Linked DNA regions of Homo sapiens: regions 1 and 3 are each linked to region 2. Evidence: promoter capture Hi-C in 16 types of primary human blood cells and fetal thymus (Javierre and others, 2016). All regions are on one chromosome and are shown on one strand. The core of a region is centred on a gene start or on the middle of the fragment in contact, and the rest is flanking DNA. Distances in the headings are between cores, read along the strand shown.

The links. Contacts are between HindIII fragments. The CHiCAGO score rates a contact against its expected background, and 5 or more counts as called.
Region 1: a contact is called between a fragment that was not itself captured here and the fragment with the promoter of CCDC97 in region 2, in 7 of 17 cell types (naive CD4 T cells, total CD4 T cells, naive CD8 T cells and 4 more). The highest score is 10.1, in naive CD4 T cells.
Region 3: a fragment that was not itself captured here is called in contact with the fragment with the promoter of CCDC97 in region 2 in 1 of 17 cell types (naive CD8 T cells); the score reaches 6.0 in naive CD8 T cells.

What each region holds. Positions count from the first base shown.
Region 1 is chr19:40,657,343-40,660,566 of GRCh38, reverse strand. No RefSeq gene overlaps it. Among named protein-coding and RNA genes, the nearest start is that of NUMBL, 32 kb to the left of the region's middle. The HindIII fragment of the contact is 1,018 bases long and covers 1,159-2,176 here.
Region 2 is chr19:41,308,558-41,311,657 of GRCh38, reverse strand. CCDC97 (coiled-coil domain containing 97) reads right to left here and starts at 1,486. Exons shown (of 5, transcript NM_052848.3): 1 at 1,302-1,486. The coding sequence starts at 1,347. It overlaps LOC105372401 (a long non-coding RNA gene), which reads left to right and starts at 1,609. Exons shown (of 2, transcript XR_935968.4): 1 at 1,609-1,720; 2 at 1,833-3,100. RefSeq lists enhancers at 1,151-1,440, 2,714-2,893. The HindIII fragment of the contact is 19,818 bases long and covers 1-3,100 here.
Region 3 is chr19:40,640,603-40,643,616 of GRCh38, reverse strand. No RefSeq gene overlaps it. Among named protein-coding and RNA genes, the nearest start is that of LTBP4, 41 kb to the right of the region's middle. The HindIII fragment of the contact is 6,260 bases long and covers 1-3,014 here.

The sequences.
Region 1 (3,224 bases), core at 418-2,917, 650 kb after region 2:
TTTTTTTTTTTTGAGACAGGGTTCTCATACTGTCGCCCAGGCTGAGTACAGTGGTGAGATTGTGGCTCACTGCAGCCTCAACCTCCTGGGCTCAAGCGATCCTTCCACCTCAGCCTCCGAAGTAGTTGGAACTACAGGTGCGTGCCAGCACGTTCAGCTAAGTGTCACACGCGTCCCTGTGAAGAGACCACCAAACAGGCTTTGTGTGAGCAACAAGGCTGTTTATTTCACCTGGGTGCAGGCAGGCTGAGTCCAAAAAGAGAGTCAGCAAAGGGTGGTGGGATTATGATTAATTCTTATAGGTTTTGGGATAGGCGGTGGAGTTTGGAGCAATGTTTTGCGGGCAGGGGGCGGATCTCACAAAGTTCATTCTCAAGGATGGGAAGAATTACAAAGAAACTTCTTAAGGGTGGGGGAGATTACAAAGTACATTGATCATTAGGGTGGGGCAGAAACAAATCACAATGGTGGAATGTCATCAGTTAAGGCTATTTTCACTTCTTTTGTGGCTCTTCAGTTGCTTCAGGCCACCTGGATGTATACGTGCAGGTCACAGGCGATATGATGGCTTAGCTTGGGCTCAGAGGCCTGACACTAAATTTTCGTATTTTTTGTAGAGATGGGGGTCTCATTAGGTTTCCCAGGCTGGTCTTGAACTCCTGGACACAAGTGATCCTCCTGCCTCATTCTCCCGAACTGCTGGGATTACAGGCTTGAGCCACCTCACCCGGCCTCAGCTTACACAATTCTGACTGAAATTAAAGCTAAACAAACTTTCCACTCGATGGGTGCCAGAACGGTCGCACCCAGATCAGCTGCAGAGAAGAGCAGAGCTTTCCATGGACATGCTAAACAAGTGAGATCGAGATCCTAATGCATTTCCTTGAAGGATTGTAACGGGAAATGATACATGGTTTCACGGGTGCAATCCTAAAGACAAATCGTAATCAGAGAATGATTGCCAAGAGCGGGGAAGTGATCCAGTCAAGGCAGAAGCACACTGGTCAAGAGCAAAGGTCATAGCAACAGTTTTTGGGGATGCTCAAGGCATTTTGCTGGTTGACTTTCTGTAGGGTCAAAGAATAATAAGATCTGCTTATTATGAGAGTGTTTTGAGAAAGTTAGCCGAAGCTTTAGTAGAAATAAGCCTGGGAAGCTTCACCAGAGAGTTCTTCTCCAGCATGTCTACGCTTCTGCTCATTCTCCTCATCAAACGAGCAATTTTACAAGTTTTGATGGGAAATTATTAGGCATCCACTTGGCAGTCCCAATTTGGCTCCTTCTGACTTTTTGTTTCCTAATCTTAAAATCTTTGAAGGGCACCCATTTTTCTTCAGTTAAGAATGTAAAAAGACTGGGCTGGGCGGAGTGGCTCACGCCTGTAATCTTAGCATTTTGGGAGGCCAAGGAGGGTGGATCACCTGAGGTTGGGAGTTCAAGACCAGCCTGACCAACATGGCAAAACCCTGTCTCTACTAAAAAAAAAAATACAAAAATTAGCCAGGTGTGGTGGCTCATGACTGTAATCCCAGCTAGTCGGGAGGCTGAGGCAGGAGAATCACTTGAACCCAGGAGGTGGAGGTTGCAGTGAGCCGAGATCATGCCACTGCACTCCAGCCTGGGCAACAAGAACAAAAAAAAAAGGCCTGGCACAGTGGCTCACAACTGTAATGCTAGCACTTTGGGAGGCCGAGGCGGGCAGATCACCTGAAGTTAGGAGTTTGAGACCAGCCCGGCCAACTTGGCAAAACCTCGTCTCTACTAAAAAAAAAAAAATTAGCCAGATGTGGTGGTACATGCCTGTAGTCCCAGCTACTCAGGAGGCTGAGGCAGGAGAATGGCTTGAACCCGGGAGGCAGAGGTTGCAGTGAGCCGAGATCATACCACTGCACTCCAGCCTGAGCAACAGAGTGAGATTCCATCAAAAAAAAAAAGAAAGAGAAAATGTAAAAAGGCTGCACTGACATGATTAAATTCCTGGGACCCTCAGTTATTTAGGGATAGACTAAATGGCTGGTATAATGGTTTACAAAAGTGTCTTGACTTTGACCTTGATGGAGTTTATGGTGAGAAATAAAGATTTTTTTAAAATTTTTATCTCTTAATTCCATTCTCCATCAACTTTTTGAATTCCCCTCATAACACAATAGCAATTTGTAGCTCATACCTATAAGCTTAGATAGCATACAGTAGCTCATACCTATAAGCTTAAGTAGACATTTACATAACTTTTAGATATCTATAGTACGTAGATAGCTACAGATCAATGTAGATGTCGAAAGAGAAAGAGCGAGACCAGGCCAGGTGGTTCACGCCTGTAACCCCACTGCTTTGGAAGACTGAAGCAAGGGGATCGCCTGAGGCTGGAGGTTCCAGACCAGCCTAGACAACATAGCAAGAACTCATGTCTACAAAAAAATTCTTTTCATTAGCTAGGTATAGTGGCACACACCTGTAGTCTGGGCTACTCGGGAGGCTGATGCAGGAGGGTCTCCCGTGCCTAGGAGTTTGAGGCTGCAGTGAGCTATGATCGAATCATCGTACTCCACCTGGGCAACAGAGAAAGACCCTGCCTCTTAAAACACAAAGAAATAGGCCCAGCACAGTGGCTCACGTTTGTAATCCAAGCACTTTGGGAGGCCAAGGTGGGGGGAATCACTTGAGCCCAGGAGTTTGAGAACAGCCTGGGCAACATGGTGAAAACCCGTCTCTACAAAAAATACAAAAATTAGCTGGGTGTGGTGGTGGGCACCTGCAGTCTCAGCTACTCAAGAGGCTTAGAAGGGAGGATCGCTTGAGCCTAGCAGGTTGAGGCTGTAGTGAGCTGTGATCACACCACTGCACTCCAGCCTGGGCAACAGAGTGAAACCCCATCTCAAAAACAAACAAACAAACACACACACACAAACCAAAACAAAAACAAAAACACAAAAGGCCAGGTGTGACGGTTCACGCCTGTAATCCAGCACTTTGGGAGGCCAAGGCAGGCGGATCACCTGAGGTCAGGAGGTCAAGACCAGCTGGCCAACGTAACAAAACCCTATCTCCACTGAAAAATACAAAAATTAGCTGGGCATGGTGGTGGGTGCCTGTAATCCCAGCTACTTGGAAGGTTGAAGCAGGGAGAATTGCTTGAACCTGGGAGGCAGAGCTTGCACTGAGATCGCACCATTGCACTCCAGCCTGGGTGACAGAGCAAGACTCCGTCTCAAAACAAAAACAAA
Region 2 (3,100 bases), core at 237-2,736:
TCAAGTGATTCCAGTTGGTGCCTCAGCCTCCCGAGTAGCTGGGATTACAGGCACATACCACGACGCCTGGCTAATATTTGTATTTTTAGTAGAGATGGGGTTTCGCTATGTTGGCTAGGCTGGTCTCCAACTCCTGACCTGAGGTGATCTTCCTGCCTCCGCCTTCCAAAGTGCTGCGATTACAGGTGTAAGCCACCGGGCCCGGCCTTAATTTTTAAATTTTTTGTAGAGATGGGGTCTGGCTATGTTGCCAGTGCTGGTCTCAAACTCCTGGGCTCAAGTCTCACTCTGCTGCAGAGGCTGGAGTGCAGTGGTGTAATAATCTTAGGTCACTGCAATCTCAAAGGATTCGAGTGACACTCCCACCTTAGTCTCCTGAGTAGCTTGTCCTAGCTACTCCCTAGCCACCAGGCCTGGCTAATTTTTAAATGTTTATAGAGATCAGGTTTCTCTCTCTTGCCCAGGCTGGTCTCAAACTCTTGGGCTCAAGCAACTCTCCTGCCTTGGCCTCCCAAAGTGTTGGGATTACAAGCGGGAGCCACTGCACCCGGCCTTAAGACTTTTTTTAGGTTAAATTTTTTATTTTTAGAAAATTTCAAACATACACAAAAGTAGAAAGTACAACGACAATTCTCCCCCTACCTCCATATACCAATCATCTCCATCTGGCTTCCACAATTACCAATTCTTGGCCAGTGGTGTTGGAGCCACGCTTCCAATCACACCTCACCCGACGTCGGATTACTTTGAAGGTTGTGGGAAAGCACAGAAATTGAGTAAGGACTTTGAAAGGAGCCTGGCTGGATTTCGGACTTTGGGGGAAACGGGAGTTACAATGAAATGAAGGAATCGTTAGATTGGGATAAGTTTGCATGAGGCAGGTAGAAGTTTAGCCTGGAAAGGTAGGAGGATTCGTCTAGAGAGCAAGGGAAGGCTCAGCTTGGTACAGGGAAGGAGGTAATTTGAGAAGGGCTGGTCTGAGGCAATGCAGGAATTAGGCCGGGGTAGAGAGGTTTCTGTTAATTTGAGAGTTAGCCTGGTAAGGAAATGAATTAGGGACATGGAAAGGATTGGTCTGGAACTGGGAAGAGGTTAATTTCGGGGGGAAGGAATGGAGGAAAAGAAGGTCAGCCCGCGACAAGGGAGGGAATAATCTGGGCAAAGTAGTGAAGAGGACCGGTAAAGCTGAGGGGGGTGGGTGTCCCCCTAAAACGAGTCCTACTTCGCGTTCCTGGGGGAATCATTTCCTAGAGACACCGCAACCGCACCCACCCGCCGCCTGCGCGTGACCAAGATCTCACCCTTATCGGGTTCCTTCGCCGCCGTCGCCGTCGCCACGGCCTCCATCCTGATTCTCTCGGACTTTTCAACCGCCCGGCGGGCCCCGCACACTAACCTCCGGCCCACGCACGCAAGAGACACTTTCGCCTGAGAATGTTCCGGGTCCGGGTGCACCGCTGCGCCCAGGCACCGAAGTTCCGGGCCTAAGGCAGACGTTGCATTGCGCATGCGTGCCTCTCTCGGGCTCCGCCCTCCGCAGCCAGGAAGGAAAGGGGCTCCCCGGAGAGTGAGAGACCCTTAAACCTCTCCTGTCAGTCAGTAGGAACCAGAATCATTGTTCGTTTTATCACTGCTGTGACTCCAGCTCCCAGCGTGCTTAATTTTGGGATGGATGGCTAAAGGACTTTCCCCCGGAGCCTGGAGCCGTCATACGCTGAGGGTTCGTGCTCTCGTTTAGACCCCCGCTTGTCCTTTTCCTTTCTTAACTCCTTCAGGAATTCAGGAATATTACTAAGCCTTGACTCTTTTTTTTTTTTTTTTTTTTGAGACAGGGTCTCGCTTTGTCGCCTAGACGAATGCAGTGGCGCGATCACAGTTCAAGTAACCTCACATTCCTGTGCTCAAGTGATCCTCCTGCCTCAGCCTTTGGAGTACTTGGGACTACAGGCGCGCACAACCGCGCCCGGCTAATTTTTAAAATTTTTTTGTAGAGCCAGGGGTCCCACTTTGTTGCCCAGGCTAGTCCCCAACTCCTGGCCTCAAGCAATCCTCCCGCTTCAGCCTCTCAAAATGCTGGGATTACGCGCGTGAGCCACCAGCCTGGCTTACTTCCGTCATCATACCCTGTCTCTGGCTGGCATGAGATGGATAGTGAGATAGAACTTCCCATTTTGTGTTCCCAGGACCTGGAGGAAATCTACAGGTGTGAAACAAGACAACTCTGGTCCTTATTTCCCTATGGGATGGGTGGGGCTCTATTTAGGTGTTACCAGCAGAGTAGACAGACATGTCACTCAGTGGCCAGGGCTTTGATGGATCCAGAGGGCTGAGGGAGCTGTCCACCCCAGGCTGGAGGGTCAAGGAAGCCTTCTTTCTGGGAGGGTACCCTCAAGCTAAGACCTGAAGAACGAGTAGGAGCTGGGTTAAGAGGAAGGTAGGGAAGAGTCTTGAGGAGGATGGCACGTACGGACGGTTCTGGTTGCTGCAAGCACTTCACTACGGTCAGGGCATAGGAAAGGAGCTCTAACTTGAAAGCCATGATTGGGCTGTGGAGGTTTTGAGAACCTCATGAATTTTTATGCAAAATTCCATGTACCTCTGTATTCTCCAATGCAGTGGTTCATGGCATCATTTGTGGGTTCCAAAAAGGACTTATGGCTCCTCAGAACAAAATAAACACTGATTTGATATTCAAAGGGGGAGCAGAAAGAGAGGGCGCCAGCGATGTTACCAGGTGCTAGGCCATGCAGGGCCTCATAAGCCATAGTAAGTGGCTTGACCTCCTTTATTCTGAAGGGAGTGGGCATCAAGGGACTGGAGATGAGACGTGTGAGAAAAACTGGCTGAGAACAGAGGAAGAGCTTCCCCATTTGCATTCCCTTGAGGTCTGGAGTTGTGGAAGAAAGCCAAGGAGGTCCCTATTTACCAACCCAGATTCCTAGGCATTACCAGGAGAGGCCAGCAGAGGGCGCTGTAGCCCAGCATATGGACATGAAGGGAAGGGGACTTTCCAGACTAAAGGCCCTGCCACCTCCTCTCTGGCGCATTCTAGGGTCCCTTTTAGCCACCAACCTTGGTTCCTTCTCACGTTCTGATGCCC
Region 3 (3,014 bases), core at 471-2,970, 670 kb after region 2:
CTTCTTTTCTACAAATGGTAAAATTTATGGGTGAGTGTGCGTGTGCTCGTGTATAATCCTGATTCTTAAGGGTTTTTTTTTCTTTTTTTGGTTTTGGTTTTGGTTTTTGAGACAGGGTCTACAGTGCAGTGGCACGATCATTTCTCACTGCAACCTCAGCCTCCGGGTTCAAACAATTTTCTTGCCTTAGCTGCTGAAATAGCTGGGATTACAGGCATGTGCCTCCACACCCAGCTAATTTTTGTATTTTTAGTAGAGACGGGGTTTCACCATGTTGGCCAGGCTGGTCTTGAACTCCTGGCCTCAAATGATCCTCCTGCCATAGCCTCCCAAAGTGCTGGGATTGCAGGCAGGATCATTTCATCTGGCTCGATTCTGAGTTTTGAAAAATTCGTAAGTCATGTAATCACCACAGTCTGCATTCATGACAGTTTTATTACTTCAAAAATTCTCTTGGGCTTTGTAGACAAGCATAGTTGGTTTTTGTATCTGCATTTATTGTTCTAATGGGAGGAAAAGCAATCGTGGGAGGTTGTTTAAGGCCTGAAGTTATTCAAGATTGGGCGGGAGTCCACCAGCAAAAGCCCAGGATTAGGCAGGAGGAGACCTGGGCTCCAGGCTTGCTCTTCCACTTGGGCCTTCCTCTCTCTGAGCCTCAGCTTCCCCATCTGTAAGATGGGTATGTGAAAACCCCAAGAGTTAACAAAGGCATCCAGGAAGCTCTCAACTGTGGCAGCTCTTTCTTTCTTCTACTTTTTTTTTTTTTTTTTCGAGATGGAGTTTTGTTCTTGCTGCCCAGGCTAGAGTGCAGTGTTGTGATCTCGGCTTACTGTGATCTCTGCCTCCCGGGTTCAAGCGATTCTCCTGCCTCAGCCTCCCGAGTAGCTGGGATTACAGGCATGTGCCACCACACCCGGCTAATTTTGTATTTTTAGCAGAGATGGGATTTCTCTATGTTGGTCAGACTTGTCTCGAACTCCCGACCTCAGGTGATTAGTCCACCTCGCCCTCCCAAAGTGCTGGGATTACAGGCGTGAACCACCGCGCCCGGCCCTCTTCCTTCTTTATTTACAGCTCTGAGGCCGAGTCATCCCAACCCAGGCACTAGCCCTGCACAGAGCAGCCAGCCCTCCTGGTCGCCTGCCCGCTGCTCCCCCACAGACAACCTGACAGTGTTCCGCGCTTTATTTTAAATTATTTTTTATTTTTGGAGACAGGGTCTTACTCTGCTGCCCAGGCTGGAGTGCAGTGGCATGATCACGGCTCACCTCAGATCTCCTGGGATCCAGCGATCCTCCCACCTCAGCCTCCTAAGTAGCCTTGGGAGTACAGGTGGGTGCCACCATGCCTGGCTAATTTTTAATTTTTTGTAGAGACAGGGGTCTCACTATGTTGCCCAGGCTGATCTCGAACTCCTGGGATTAAGCCAGCCTCCCACTTTGGCCTCCCAAAGTGCTGGGATTAGAGATATGAGCCACCACACCCAGCCTATGTTCTGTGTTTTCTACCTTCAATAGCACTCAAATTCTCCCCTTCCCTTGGCGGGGCGTAGTGGCTCACACCTGTAATCCCAGCACTTTGGGAGGTTGAGGTGTGCGGATCACTTGAGGCCAGGAGTTCAAGACTAGCCTGGCCAACATGGCAAAACCCTGTCTCTCCTAAAAATACAAAAAATTAGGCCAGACGTCGTGGCTCATGCCTGTAATCCCAGCACTTTGGGAGGCCGGGGCAGGTGGATCGCTTGAGGTCAGGAGTATGAGACCAGCCTGGCCAATATGGTGAAACCCCGTCTCTACCAAAAATATTAAAAATTAGCTGGGTGTGAGGGTGCGTGCCTGTAATCCCAGCTACTTGGGAGGCTGAGGCAGGAAAATCCCTTGAACTCGGGAGGCAGAGGTTGCAGTGAGCAGAGATCGTGCCATTGCACTACAGTCTTGGAGACAGACTGAAACTCTGTCTCAAAAAAATATAATAAAATAAAATTATCTCCTTCCCCAATCCACAGTCCCCAGGGCCTGCGCCTCCCAGATTCTCCATGGCCCTGTCCATCTCCGCTGCCTGGGTCCCTGCCCGGCCGGCCTCCTCCCTGGACTCCAGCCTGCCCTTATGTCTCCCATGACCCACTCCCACCCAGCCACCCACAAGCACTTTCTAAATCTGACCACAGACCCCCATGTCTCAAAGGATAACTCGAGGCCTGCCAAGCGCCTCCCTTCCCCATAGGACAAAATTATTGCCAGTAATAATCAGGAAATGAAATGAACAATATTAATAGTCAGAAAAGAAATGTAAACAGTGGAGATTTTCTTTTCTTGAACCTCATATACGTAAAGTCTGCCAGTAAAAATTAAATTTAAAAGTAAACATTACAGTACTAAAAAAAAAAAGAAAGAAAAATAGCACTACTATTTATTCAAAGTTTATTGAAAAATTCGAAGTTGGAACTTGGGTTTTTGGGTTACAGTCTGATATAAAATTGTTATGTAAATAGTTGTGAGTTTTTTTCTTCTTGAGGAGAGAGAGACTGGGAGGGAGGGAGGAAACAGGAAGAGAGACAGACAGAGAGACAGACACAGAGTGAGACACAGTTGACCCCTTCACATGGGGCCCTGGGCACTTAGAATTCACCCTGCAAAGCCCCCCCGAAGTCAGGACTTGGTGTGGGGTGTTGCAGAAATGTTTCCTCCCCCTGCCCGGGCTCCGCTGGGAAGCCACGTCCCCCACCCCTGCCCTTCCTCCCACCCACAGCCTGCCTTCTCTCTGGGGACCTCTGTGGAGCTGCCTGGAACATGCGTGGGGTGACATGCATAGCAAGCTGGGGGAAGCAACCAAGGTGGTGGCCAGGCCCCTTGAAGACATAAAAGCACATTGCATTGGGAGGGAGGGACCCCGGGGGGCTGAGAATGTCCTGTTGCTTAAACTGGATGGAGGGGACACTGGGTGGTGGGTGCAGCTCCTCGTTTTCAGCAGTGGTTTCTTGAAGTAGACCCATATTCAGGAAAGTACAAACCGTA